Regions from separate parts of the Homo sapiens genome. Here region 1 is linked to region 2. Evidence: promoter capture Hi-C in human tissues and cell types (Jung and others, 2019). All regions are on one chromosome and are shown on one strand. The core of a region is centred on a gene start or on the middle of the fragment in contact, and the rest is flanking DNA. Distances in the headings are between cores, read along the strand shown.

Region 1 (5,885 bases), core at 2,201-4,700, 49 kb after region 2:
CAGTTTATATCTTGTTTCTTACATTAAAAATTTTTTTTTAATTTTTTATAGAGATGATGTCTCACTTATGTTGCCCAGGCTGGTCTCGAACTTCTGGCCTCAAGCAATCCTCCTACCTCGGCCTCCCAAAGTGCTGGGATTACAGGTGTGAGCCACTGCATCTGACCAATATTTTCTTTTCTTTTCTTTTTTTTTTTTTTTTTTTGAGACAGAGTCTCGCTCTTTCGCCCAGGCCAGAGTGCAGTGGCGCCATCTTGGCTCACTGCAAGCTCCGCCTCCCAGGTTCACGCCATTCTCCTGCCTCAGCCTCCCGAGTAGCTGGGACTACAGGCGCTCGCCACTGCACCCGGCTACTTTTTTGTATTTTTAGTGGAGACGGGGTTTCACCGTGTTAGCCAGGATGGTCTCGATCTCCTGACCTCGTGATCCACACGCCTCGGCCTCCCAAAGTGCTGGGATTACAGGCGTGAGCCACTGCGCCTGGCCTAATATTTTCATTTTTGGCTCACAAATTTCCCCCTTTTAAACTTCCCATAGCTGTTCCCCAGACCTCACTTCCCCTGTGCCTCTGCCCTGGGCCCTGGAGCTCTGGAGAAGCCTCTCTGTTCTTTGAAGCCTGGACTGTCATTTGAAGCTCTAGACTTTCCAGGTTGATGCCTAGGAGCATAGGAGGCCATCATCAACCCCTGGAAACATCTCTGGGCGTAGGCTGCCAGGCTGGAAGGGATGCTGGGGATCACATGATCCAGGCTGTTTATCACACAGGGGAGACATAAGGCCTCGAGAGACAGAAGGTCTTAACAAAGGTAATGCAGCTGATGGAGGCCAGAACTGGAATTAGAACCAGGTCTCCCGACTTCTGCTTCAGAACTTTCTCTGTCCACTCTGGCATCATTTTCTTTTCTTTTTTGTTTTGTTTTGTTTTGAGATGGAGTCTCCCTCTGTCACCCAGACTGGAGTGCAGTGGCACTATCTCAGCTCACTGCAACCTCTGCCTCCCAAGTTCAAGGGATTCTCTTGCCTCAGCCTCCTGAGTAGCTGGGATTACAAGCGCGTGCCACCATGCCCAGCTAATTTTTATATTTTTGGTAAAGGTGGGGTTTCGCCATGTTGGCCAGGCTAGTCTCAAACTCCTGGCCTCAAGTGATCTGCCTGCCTTGACCTCCCAAAGTGCTGGGATTACAGGTGTGAGCCACTGCACCCAGCCTCTGGCCATTATTTTCTTGTTGCTTGGTGTCAGAATCCTGACCAGGCCTTTCCCAAGGTCCTGCTCAGAGGGCCCTGGCATATTTATACTTTAGCACCTAGTGTAGTGGTAGGAGTACAGTCTAGTGTCATTGGCCCTGGGCCTGAATCTCAGCTCTTTGTGCTACCAGTGATGTGACTTTGGGAAAATCCCCAGCCCCTTCTCTGTGGCCTGGTTTCTTCAGATGTGTAATGAGGCTGGTGATACCCACCTCGCAGGGTGATTGAGAATTGCACCTGGAGCCTGATGCAAAGTGGACCCTCAGAACATGTTGCCTGACACCAAGAGGGTCTCTGCAGAGCCTTGCCTATGTCCACACCCTGGGGTTACTGAAGGAATCCTTAAACCAAAACTCGGCCGTGCCACTAAGCTCTGCAAACATCTGGGGTGCTGTCGACTGGCTTTGTTGAAATATTAATATTATGACCATTGCACTTTCCAAATATAATACTGTGAGCCATGAGCGTACATCCTTCCCCATTTCAAACTTCCCCTTTGTCGGGAGCCAAGCTCGGCGGGAACCTGGAGCCTTGGGGTGTGAGTTGGGGGTCAGTGTCTGTCTCTCTTCCCCAGCTCGTGCCATTCCTCACCAGGAACTACCTCAAACAAGGCTTCATGGAAAAGACTGGGCCAAAGGTACCTTCTATCACTCCCTGGGGAACTTAATATGGTTTAATGTATATAGAAGGTTTCATGTGTTTATGGGATGATTGTTAAGAGGACAGTGAAAGGTGTTAGGCCAAGCTTGTCCAACCCACAGCCCATGGGCCACATGCAACCCAGGACGGCTTGGAATGATGCCCAACAGAAATTCATAAACTTTCTTTTTTAAATTTTTTTGAGACAGAGTCTTGCTCTGTCACCCAGGCCAGAGTACAGTGGTGTGATCTCGGCTCACTGCAACCTCCGCCTCCCAGATTCAAGCGATTCTCCTGCCTCAGACTCCTGAGTAGCTGGGATTACAGGTGCCCACCACCATGCCCGGCTAATTTTTGTAATTTTAGTAGAGATGGGGTTTCACCATGTTGGCCAGGCTGGTCTCGAACTCCTGACCTCAAGCGATCTGCCCACCTCAGCCTCCCAAAGTGCTGGGATTACAGGCATGAGCCACCATGCCCAGCCAAATTCGTGAACTTTCTTAAAACATTATGAGATATTTTTGCGATTTTTTTTTTTTGGCTCATCAGCTATCATTAGTGTTAGTGTATTTTATGTGTGGCCCAAGACAATTCTTCCAATGTGGCCCAGGGAAGGCAAGAGATTGGATATTCCTGTGTTAGGCAATCATGAAAGCAAGCCTTGGGCAGGTGGAAAAAGCAGTCAAAGGGTTGTTTTCAGAGAGGCGCAGCCCCTCCGCCTGGTTCTTGTTGCTGGGCTTTCTCTCCCTGACCTAGGTTAGAATTTGGCCAAGGCCAGCACTTTCAGCCTTGCCAAGCAGTAGCCACTTCTGATTTTTTCCAACTTCCTTTCCGGCTTCTTTGTCTACAGCCTGAAAAAGAGGAAGGTGCCTCTTCCAAGTTGAGGCAGCAGGGTGAAGCTGGCAAAGGGTATGGTGGGGTTGGAAGGGGAATGGGCAGAACCTTCAGAGCCTGAGGGCTCCTATCCAGGCCCCAGGGAGAAGCACTAGGATGTCTGACTGAGGAGGCTGGGCTGGAGAACCAGTGGGACTGGCCAGCTCCTTTGGTTTGGGCTGGGCTGGCCCCTGACCTCTATCCTCAGAAACTGACCTGGTCATCTGTGGTAAGAAGTTCCCTCTTTTGCAGCAGAAAGAACCTTTCAAGAAAAGGTGGTTCGCCCTGGATTGCCATGAGCGGAGGCTGCTCTATTACAAGAACCCACTGGTAAGAGCCACTCCTGCTCCCTCCCCAGGGCTTCCTCAAACATTGCTGGGTGGTGCTTGTCTGGAACTATGTGAAAGCTACAGATAAACACATCTCCCAGAGCCCCAGAGCTAGAGAAACCTTGAGAGGAAAACCTCTACCCCTTGTTTTTGTTTCTCTTGAGTAATCTCCTATGGCATGAAGCTTCTCCTCGCTTTCAGGAAGTCTATTATGAGTATCCAAAATGCTGCCCATGGTAGTTAAATATGGTGTATCTCTTCCTCTAGTCTCCAGGGCTCACTTCTAACCAAGAGGCCGTGATGTGTAGTAGTTAGGAGTGTGGTGGACTCTAGAACCCCACCGTCTGGGCTCTGGTCTCAGCCCTGCCACTTGTAGTAGTGTTGCCTTGAGCCGTGTACTTAGTGCTCTGTGCCTCGGTTTCCTCCTCTGAAAAACAGGCTTAATAAGAATGCCTTCCCCAGAGGTTGCCATGATGGTTATTTAAGTTACTATATATAAAGCATTGTAATTCCTGATGCTGATTTTAATAAGTGCTCCGTAAATGTTAGGTATCACTTATTTTTTTTTTTTTAGAGACAGAGTCTCTCTCTGTCACCCAGGCTGGAATGCAGTGGCACAATCACAGCTCATTGCAACCTTGAACTTCTGGGCCCAAGTTATCTTCCTGCCTCAGCCTCCTAAGTAGCTCAGAATACAGGCATGCATCACCATGCCCAGCTAATTAAAAAAAAAAAATTTAGGGCTGGATGTGCTGCCTTTTGTCTGTAATCCCAGCACTTTGGGAGGCTGAGACAGGAGGATCGCTTGAGCCCAGAAGTTCGAGACCAGCCTGTGCAACATAGTGAGATCCCATCTCTACAAGAAACTTAAGGCCAGGCACGGTGGCTCACATCTGTAAACCCAGCATTTTGGAAGGCTGAGGCGGGGCAGATCACGAGCTCAGGAGTTCGAGACTAGCCTAACCAACATGGTGAAACCCTGTCTCTACTAAAAATACAAAAATTAGCCGGACGTGGTGGTGCGTGCCTGTAAGCCCAGCTACTCAGGAGGCTGAGGCAGGAGAATCGCTTGAAACCGGGAGGCAGAGGGTGCAGAGGGTGCATGCCATTGCACTCCAGCCTGGGTGCAGAGTGAGACTCCGTCTCAAAAAAAAAAAAAGAAAGAAAAAAAAAGAAACTTAAAAATTAGTCAGGTGTGGTGGTGCATGCCTGTAGTCCTAGCTGCTTGGGAGGCTGAGGTGGGAGGATTGCCTGAGCCTGGGAGGTTGAGGCTGGGATGAGCCATGATTGTGCCACTGCACTTCCAGCCTGGGTGACAGAGTGAGGCCCTGTCTCCAAAAACAATTCATAATAATAATTAATAATTTTTTTTTGTAGAGAAGGGGTCTCACTATGTTGTCCCGGTTGGTCTCATATTCCTGGCCTCAGGCAATCCTCTGCCTTGGCTTCCCAAAGTGCTAGGATTACAGGCATGAACTACCAGGCCCACCCTCGGTATCTTTTCAATAGATGATGTGTATGATTTATTTTAGGGTTTTGATCTTTCAAATTCTGGGTCCCACTTAGCAGAAATCCCAGCAGGGACCTCATACCCCTTTCCCAAAATAAAGCTTGGAGGCTGTCAGGGCTGCAGGGCCCCTCTGCCCTGGGGGCACCCTCTGATGACCCTGTACTCTCCATTTTCAGGATGCCTTCGAGCAGGGCCAGGTTTTTCTTGGGAACAAGGAGCAGGGATATGAAGCCTACGAAGACCTGCCCAAGGGCATCCGAGGAAATCGCTGGAAAGCCGGACTCACCATTGTCACCCCAGAGCGGAGATTTGTCCTCACTTGCCCCAGTGAGAAGGAACAGCAGGAATGGCTGGAAAGTTTGCGGGGTGTCCTGTCCAGCCCCTTGACGCCCCTCAACCGGCTTAGTAAGAAGCAGGAACTGAGGGGTGTTCTTTTGGACAAGGGCAGAGGACAGAAAATTGCTTCTTCACTTAGGTTCAGCTTTGATACCACAAAAGATTCCTGATTCCTGACTATGCTCTTTTCATTGTCTTCTCTTCCTGCAAAAGAAAAGCACAGACATGCCATTATTGCCAAAAGGTCTCCTCTGTCCACTCTGGGTTCCCCTAACCGAGCCCTTCCCCAGGAGCTTTTAGAGGAGTTTGGCCCTGGCAGAACCCCTGGGTGCTGTCTGTACCCCTTGCGGTGTGGGGGCTAAGCAGCTTCTCTTTCCCTCCACCGTGCTCTATGCTGATCCTTTTTCTCGTGAGAAAACGCTGGCCTGTTATTATTAGCTAAGGTCACACCCGCTGGGCAGCTCCTGGGATTTTTGGATTCCTCCCCACTCCAGAGGGAAGGCTATTTCTAGTGGCTTCTTTTCTTTGAGTCCTCCCTTCTGTCTGCCTCTCTCCTGTTCCTCCTCTTTACCAGTAGGGCTTCCTCAATGCTGACAGCCCTGTGAAAAAAGGGGAGACATGCCGAGCTCCGGCAGGAAACTGCTGGCCCAGGACCTGGCTTCTGGGGCACAAAGGAGAATTTCTGTGTTTGGAAAAGTACAGACTGAGCAGGTGACCCCCGCACAGCCCCTTGGGGGAAACACTTGTGCCCTTTGAGTCTGACTGATATAAACACAGACTCTCTTGACTGTCCCATAAAGGCCAAAGCCAGAGAACCTCAGAAAGGGACTTGCAAATTGTGAGTGAGGCATATCAGCTGGTGCTTTCTTTTCTCTGTGGGCTGCCATTTATGAATCTCTTGGTTTCTCTCTGTCTCTGTCCCTCCACTTTTCTCTCCTTTGCTGGTGTGTGCA
Region 2 (5,543 bases), core at 2,369-4,868:
ACTTAACAGAATCTGCCAGTCCTCTGAAACTGTGTAGTATTCTGTGTATATGTGCTATATCTTTTTCTATGGGAAGAGGGTCCACAGCTTTCATCAGGTTTTCAAAAGTACCCATATTCCTCAAAAAACGGACCCACTGGTCCAGAAAAAAAATGGTGCTTATGATTTTTATGAGATAATGATTATCAAGCAATGTTACACAGGACATGAGTTCCTCTAAAGTTTAATACTTGAGTGCTGTGGCCGGGCGCAGTGTCTCACACCTGTAATCTCAGCACTTCGGGAGCCCGAGGCAGGTGGATCACGAGGTCAACAGATCAAGACCATCCTGGCGCCAACATGGTAAAACCTCATCTCTACTAAAAATACAAAAATTAGCTGGGCGTGGTGGCATGTGCCTGTAGTTTCAGCTACTCAGGAGGCTGAGGCAGGAGAATCGCTTGAACCTGGGAGGTGGAGGTTGTTGTGAGATCATGCCACTGTACTCCAGCCTGGCGACAGCACAAGACTCTGTCTCAAAAAAAAAAAAAAAAAAAAAATTGGCTGTGTCAAATATTTCTAGTATTTATTTTTTTAAGACAATAGAAAAAGAATTGCTTTTAGAATGGTGTTTTTTTTTTTTTTTTGAGACAGAGTCTTGCTCTGTAGCCAGGCTGGAGTGCACTGGCGTGATGTCAGCTCACTGCAACCTCTGCCTCCCAGGTTCAAGAGATTCTCCTGCCTCAGCCTCCCGAGTAGCTGGGACTACAGGCCCACGCCACCATGCCCAGCTAAATTTTGTATTTTTAGTAGAGATGGGCTTTCACCACATTGGCCAGGATTGTCTGGATCTCTTGACCTTGTGATCCGCCCGCTTTGGCCTCCCAAAGTGCTGGGATTACAGGTGTGAGCCAGCCGCTTTTTTTTTTTTTTTTTAATCTTACCTATAGACTTGCATGATTCAAGATAAAATGCTTTTTAAAGGAGAAAAGGTACAGAAAATAATTTTAAATTCTGCCGGAAAGACTGGTATAATGTTCTAAAGTCACTCACTGGCCATAACCTATCTTTGCTCCTTAATTTCTCATTAATCCTAACATCACCCTTAGACACAGCCTGGTATCTCCAACGACACTCCTCTTAAATAAGCCTTGCCTAGACCTGCTTCTCAGCATCAACTGTTCTTTCTACCTACAATGCCCTCCTCTCCCATCCAAAGGATCTCTCTTTTAAGACCTAAATTGAGTTCTTCCAGTAAACTTTCCACAACAGTCACAGCCCATTGTTTTCTCTCCTCTCAACTGCCAATTTACTATCTGTACATCTCATTATTTGGTAGTGATCATATACTTGCCAACTAAACCTGAAGAACCCTGTCTTAGCCACTTCCCAACCCAATGCCCAGAAGAGTGCTTTCTAGAGTAGGTTCTCAAATATTAGGCAGTATAGCAGACATGAAGAATATACCTTAAGTCTTTCTCTTTCTATGTCTGGTTTGAGGAGCTTTCTCAGGAACCGGTTTTCCGGTGACTTTCTTTTTTCCCGTCCAGTCTTTGGACAAAGTATGGAGTTACAAACTTGAACTGTACTTTTATACTTAAACAAGGGCACATTCATTAAACTCTCTAAATTCTGAAATGGCCCAAAGTTTTCTCTGTGCTCTACGATATTGATGGACCTTCTTCCACGAAGCAATCGGAAAGCTTCAAGTTCTTTAGTAGATGCTGTATTCAACACATGCAAGATGGAAGCCTGCTGTTCTGAAGAGAAGAGCTTGTCAAGTGCATTTTCGGGCTCCTTTGCATTTTCATCACAAAAAGTAACATTGGGAGTAATTTTCTTAGGTGTAGTGGATTTTTTCCGACAGCAGAAATTATGTAAGGCCCAGTACAGGGATGACCTCGACGGGGTCAGAAAGCATCTCCACCTCTCTAAAAGGAAAATTTAGCAAAATATAAGTTGGATGTCCTACTTCCTTTGGGGTTAGTTGCAAGCTTGACTAGATCCTTTGCAAAGTCACAAATACTTTCCTGGAATTTAAGAACTAATAGAGGACAATATTAAATTGTCTTGGAGAATCATCTTTTTTTTTTTTTTTTGAGACGGAGTCTTGCTCTGTTGCCCAGGCTGGAGTGCAGTGGCCGATCTCGGCTCACTGCAAGCTCCGCCTCCCAGGTTCACGCCATTCTCCTGCCTCAGCCTCCCAGGTGGCTGGGACTACAGGCGCCTGCCACCACGCCCGGCTAATTTTTTGTATATTTAGTAGAGACGGGGTTTCACAGTGTTAGCCAGGATGGTCTCCATCTCCTGACCTCGTGATCCGCCCACCTCAGCCTCCCAAAGTGCTGGGATTACAGGCGTGAGCCACTGTGCCCGGCCCGAGAATCATCTTTAAAAGAGGATTAGTTTTTAAACTATATTATATAGAGTTTTAAATAGAGCTTTTGTTGTTTTCAAGTCACGAGAGATGTCTCCCGATATTTATGGATCAGTCCGAAGTTTTACTACCTAGAAAATTGTATTTTATACCCATCAGGAAGCAAGTAGTTGAAATAATTATTCCAACTGCTTAAAGTTTCTGATATTTTTAATTTAGAGGAATCTTTTTGTAACTAATATTTCCTGTTAAGGTTTGTCTTAGGCCGGGCGCGGTGACTCACGCTTATAATCCCAGCACTTTGGGAGGCCGAGGTGGGCGGATCACCTGAGGTCGGGAGTTCGAGACCAGCCTGACCAACATGGAGAAACCCTGTCTCTACTAATAATACAAAATTAGCCGGGCGTGGTGGCACATGCCTGTAATCCCAGCTACTCGGGAGGCTGAGGCAGGAGAATCGCTTGAGCCCGGAAGGCGGAGGTTGCGGTGAGCCGAGATCGCACCATTGCACTCCAGTCTCGGCAACAAGAGCGAAACTCCGTCTCAAAAAAAAAAAAAAAAGGGTTTTGTCTTCACTTCCATTTTCACATTTTAGTATCTCATCTGGTGGAACTAAATAAAATTAAATTTTGTACGTTTATAAGAAATGTTTCAGCTAAGTGATAGATTTAAGGGCAGTTTTACTTTCTTCCGTACACTTTTCAAGACTTCTACATGACGTTTTTGCAAGTATGAGAAACACCATACAATGCATAACTTTGTAAAACCAGTGGGAAGTCACTCTAACATCGCAGCCACAGGAAAGTAATGTGGCCAGAGGTAAGCAAGCGGCTGTGAGAATGTGAACCATCCGCCCACTCTGAGGAGCCACCCGTGGACCCTGAGGCCGGGGAAGCACAAATGTTCCGAAAACTGCCCCGTCAGCTAGGCTGGGGCCCCAAGAGAGGGGCCTGAACAAGGGACATGAGGAAGGAAACACTCTAGGACATGAGGGACATGAGGAAGGAAACACTCCAGGTTCCTCCAGAATACCTCCAGCCGTATTCCATTAGCCTCTAGGGTCAGAGGCTAATGACAGACGGGAAATCACCCCAGTGTTCCAAGCACCCTACCTCCCGCCGTATTCCATTAGCCTCTAGGGTCAGAGGCTAATGACAGACGGGAAATCACCCCAGTGTTCCAAGCACCCTACCTCCCGCCGTGAAGAGGACAGACCCGCTCATCTCCAAGTTGAATCAGTAGGTCCAGTCTTCCTCCATTGACTTCCGGTTCCTGCGTGCTGCGCCCAAAAGCGCTCGGCCTGCACTCGGCGGAAAGGTTGTTGTCCAAGCGGCGTTCCGGGGCAAGGCCCGAGGTGTGTCCCGCTGAGCAGTGGGTCGTCCGCGTCTGGGCTGCGGGCTTCCAGGCGGGCGCCTGCCGAGGCCCTGTCCCCGGATCCCGAGTCCCTGGCTGGCCCGCAGTCTTCTTCCACTGCACCGGGGAAACGTTCTTGCCCCTACCGACTCCTGAGAGCCGCTGGGCCGAATCTCCAGGAAGGCGATTCCGAGGCCAGTTTTAGTCTGTAGTGGGTAAAGTGCCTCCTTCGTGGAGACTCCCTGGGTTTCTCCTAGACACTTAGATTGAGGAGCTCCTGTTGGGGCCCAGCCTGTGGCGCCGGGAGCGGGATCAGGTAGGGGCAGCGTAGACAAGGTCCTCAAATAACCTTTTCACCAGGTAGACTGGAATAACGGGGAGAGATGCGAAGTGTTTGAGGAGCTCAGCGGGGAAACAGGGCAGGCAAGGGATTAGGTAAAGGCGAGGGAGGAGGAGATTGCGTTGGCGCTGGAGCGGTATTCCTCTTAGAAGGGATAAAGGGAGATGAATGTAGCGCCGAATTTAGTTGGTCCTTGAATAATGGGTGGAGCAGTTGAATACTCCACCAGATAGGAAGCCTGAAGTCCCCGAGGTTTATGATTTGCAGTCAGACTGGAGAGTGTTCCTAGAAAATTGGCCATATACTGTATAGCGAATGTGAGGCTGGATTGCAGGTGAAGAGCCTGGGAGCAATGAGAAGTCGCGAAGAGAGTGTATCTTCCCAGGTGAGAGGCAAGCGTAAGGAATTTTTTTTTTAACAGTCTTGCTCTGTCGCCCAGGTTGGAGTGCAGTGGTGCGATCTGGACTCACTGCAAACTCCGCCTCCCGATTTCAAGTGATTCTCGTGCCTCAGCCTCCCGAGTAGCTGAGATTACAGGCGAGCGCCACTACGCCCGGCTAATTTTTGTATTTTTAGTAGAGACAGGTGTCACCATGTTGGCCAGGCTGGTCTCGAACTCCTGACCTCAGGTGATCCGCCCGACTCGGCCTCCCAAAGTGCTGGGATTACAGGCGTGGGCCACTGCGCCTGGCCAACCGTAAGGAATTGAACCTAGGAGATGTAAGGAGAGTGGAAAGAAAAGAATTATTTCTGGAAGATGGGGAGCCAGTTTTGTGAAAAACGGGGAATTCAGGAGGGAGGGAAAGGTGATGAGTTTGCGTTTTTATGAGGCAGCAATGGGTTGATTGTTTGTGTCTGGAAGGCAGTGGGGATGTAGGGGAATCATAAGTATTAATAAAATGTGCTGGTCGGGAGCAGTGGCTCCCAAAGTGTAATTCCAGCACTTTGGGAGGCCGAGACGGGCGGATCGCTTGAGCTCTTGAGTTCCAGACCACCCTGGGCAACATGGCGAAACCCCGTCTCTACGAAAAAATTAGCCGGGTGTGGTGGAGCACGCCTGTTATCCCAGCTACTCAGGAGGCTGAGGTGGGAGAATCACCTGAGCCCGGGAGGTAGAGGTTGCAGTGAGTGGAGATCGTGTCACCACACTCCAGCGTGGGGGACAGAGCCAGACCTTGTCTCAAAAAAAGAAAAAAAATTGCTCATAGGAAGTCTAGAAACCTTGGCAGTTTCTGGGGAACTTAGGAATCTAACAAGAAATAACATCAACTTTTTTCTGCAAAATCCTCCAAATCAGGAGGAAATAATTTCCTCAACTGTAGGGCTTATTCAGTTTACTGAGATGTTATGATTGAATTGCATCCCTCAAAACAGATTTGTTGAAGTCCTAACCCCCAGTACCTTATTATTTCCAAATAAGGTCATTGTAGATGTAACTAATTAAAATGAGGACAGGAAGGCCGGCACGGTGGCTCACGCCTGTAATCCCAGCGC

The links. The method cuts DNA at HindIII sites, captures the fragments that hold promoters and counts their contacts. A contact is called where the count stands out against the background at its distance.
Region 1: a contact is called between a fragment that was not itself captured here and the fragment with the promoter of TEFM in region 2, in 1 of the 25 tissues and cell types used here (pancreas).

The regions. Positions count from the first base shown.
Region 1 is chr17:30,951,469-30,957,353 of GRCh38, forward strand. ADAP2 (ArfGAP with dual PH domains 2) reads left to right here. Exons shown (of 11, transcript NM_018404.3): 8 at 1,820-1,882; 9 at 3,010-3,087; 10 at 4,773-5,001. Among named protein-coding and RNA genes, the nearest start is that of RNF135, 17 kb to the right of the region's middle. RefSeq lists an enhancer at 5,746-5,795. The HindIII fragment of the contact is 5,308 bases long and covers 797-5,885 here.
Region 2 is chr17:30,902,620-30,908,162 of GRCh38, forward strand. TEFM (transcription elongation factor, mitochondrial) reads right to left here and starts at 3,619. Exons shown (of 4, transcript NM_024683.4): 1 at 3,549-3,619; 2 at 1,447-1,910. The coding sequence starts at 3,579. RefSeq lists enhancers at 4,109-4,378, 4,357-5,157. The HindIII fragment of the contact is 8,355 bases long and covers 710-5,543 here.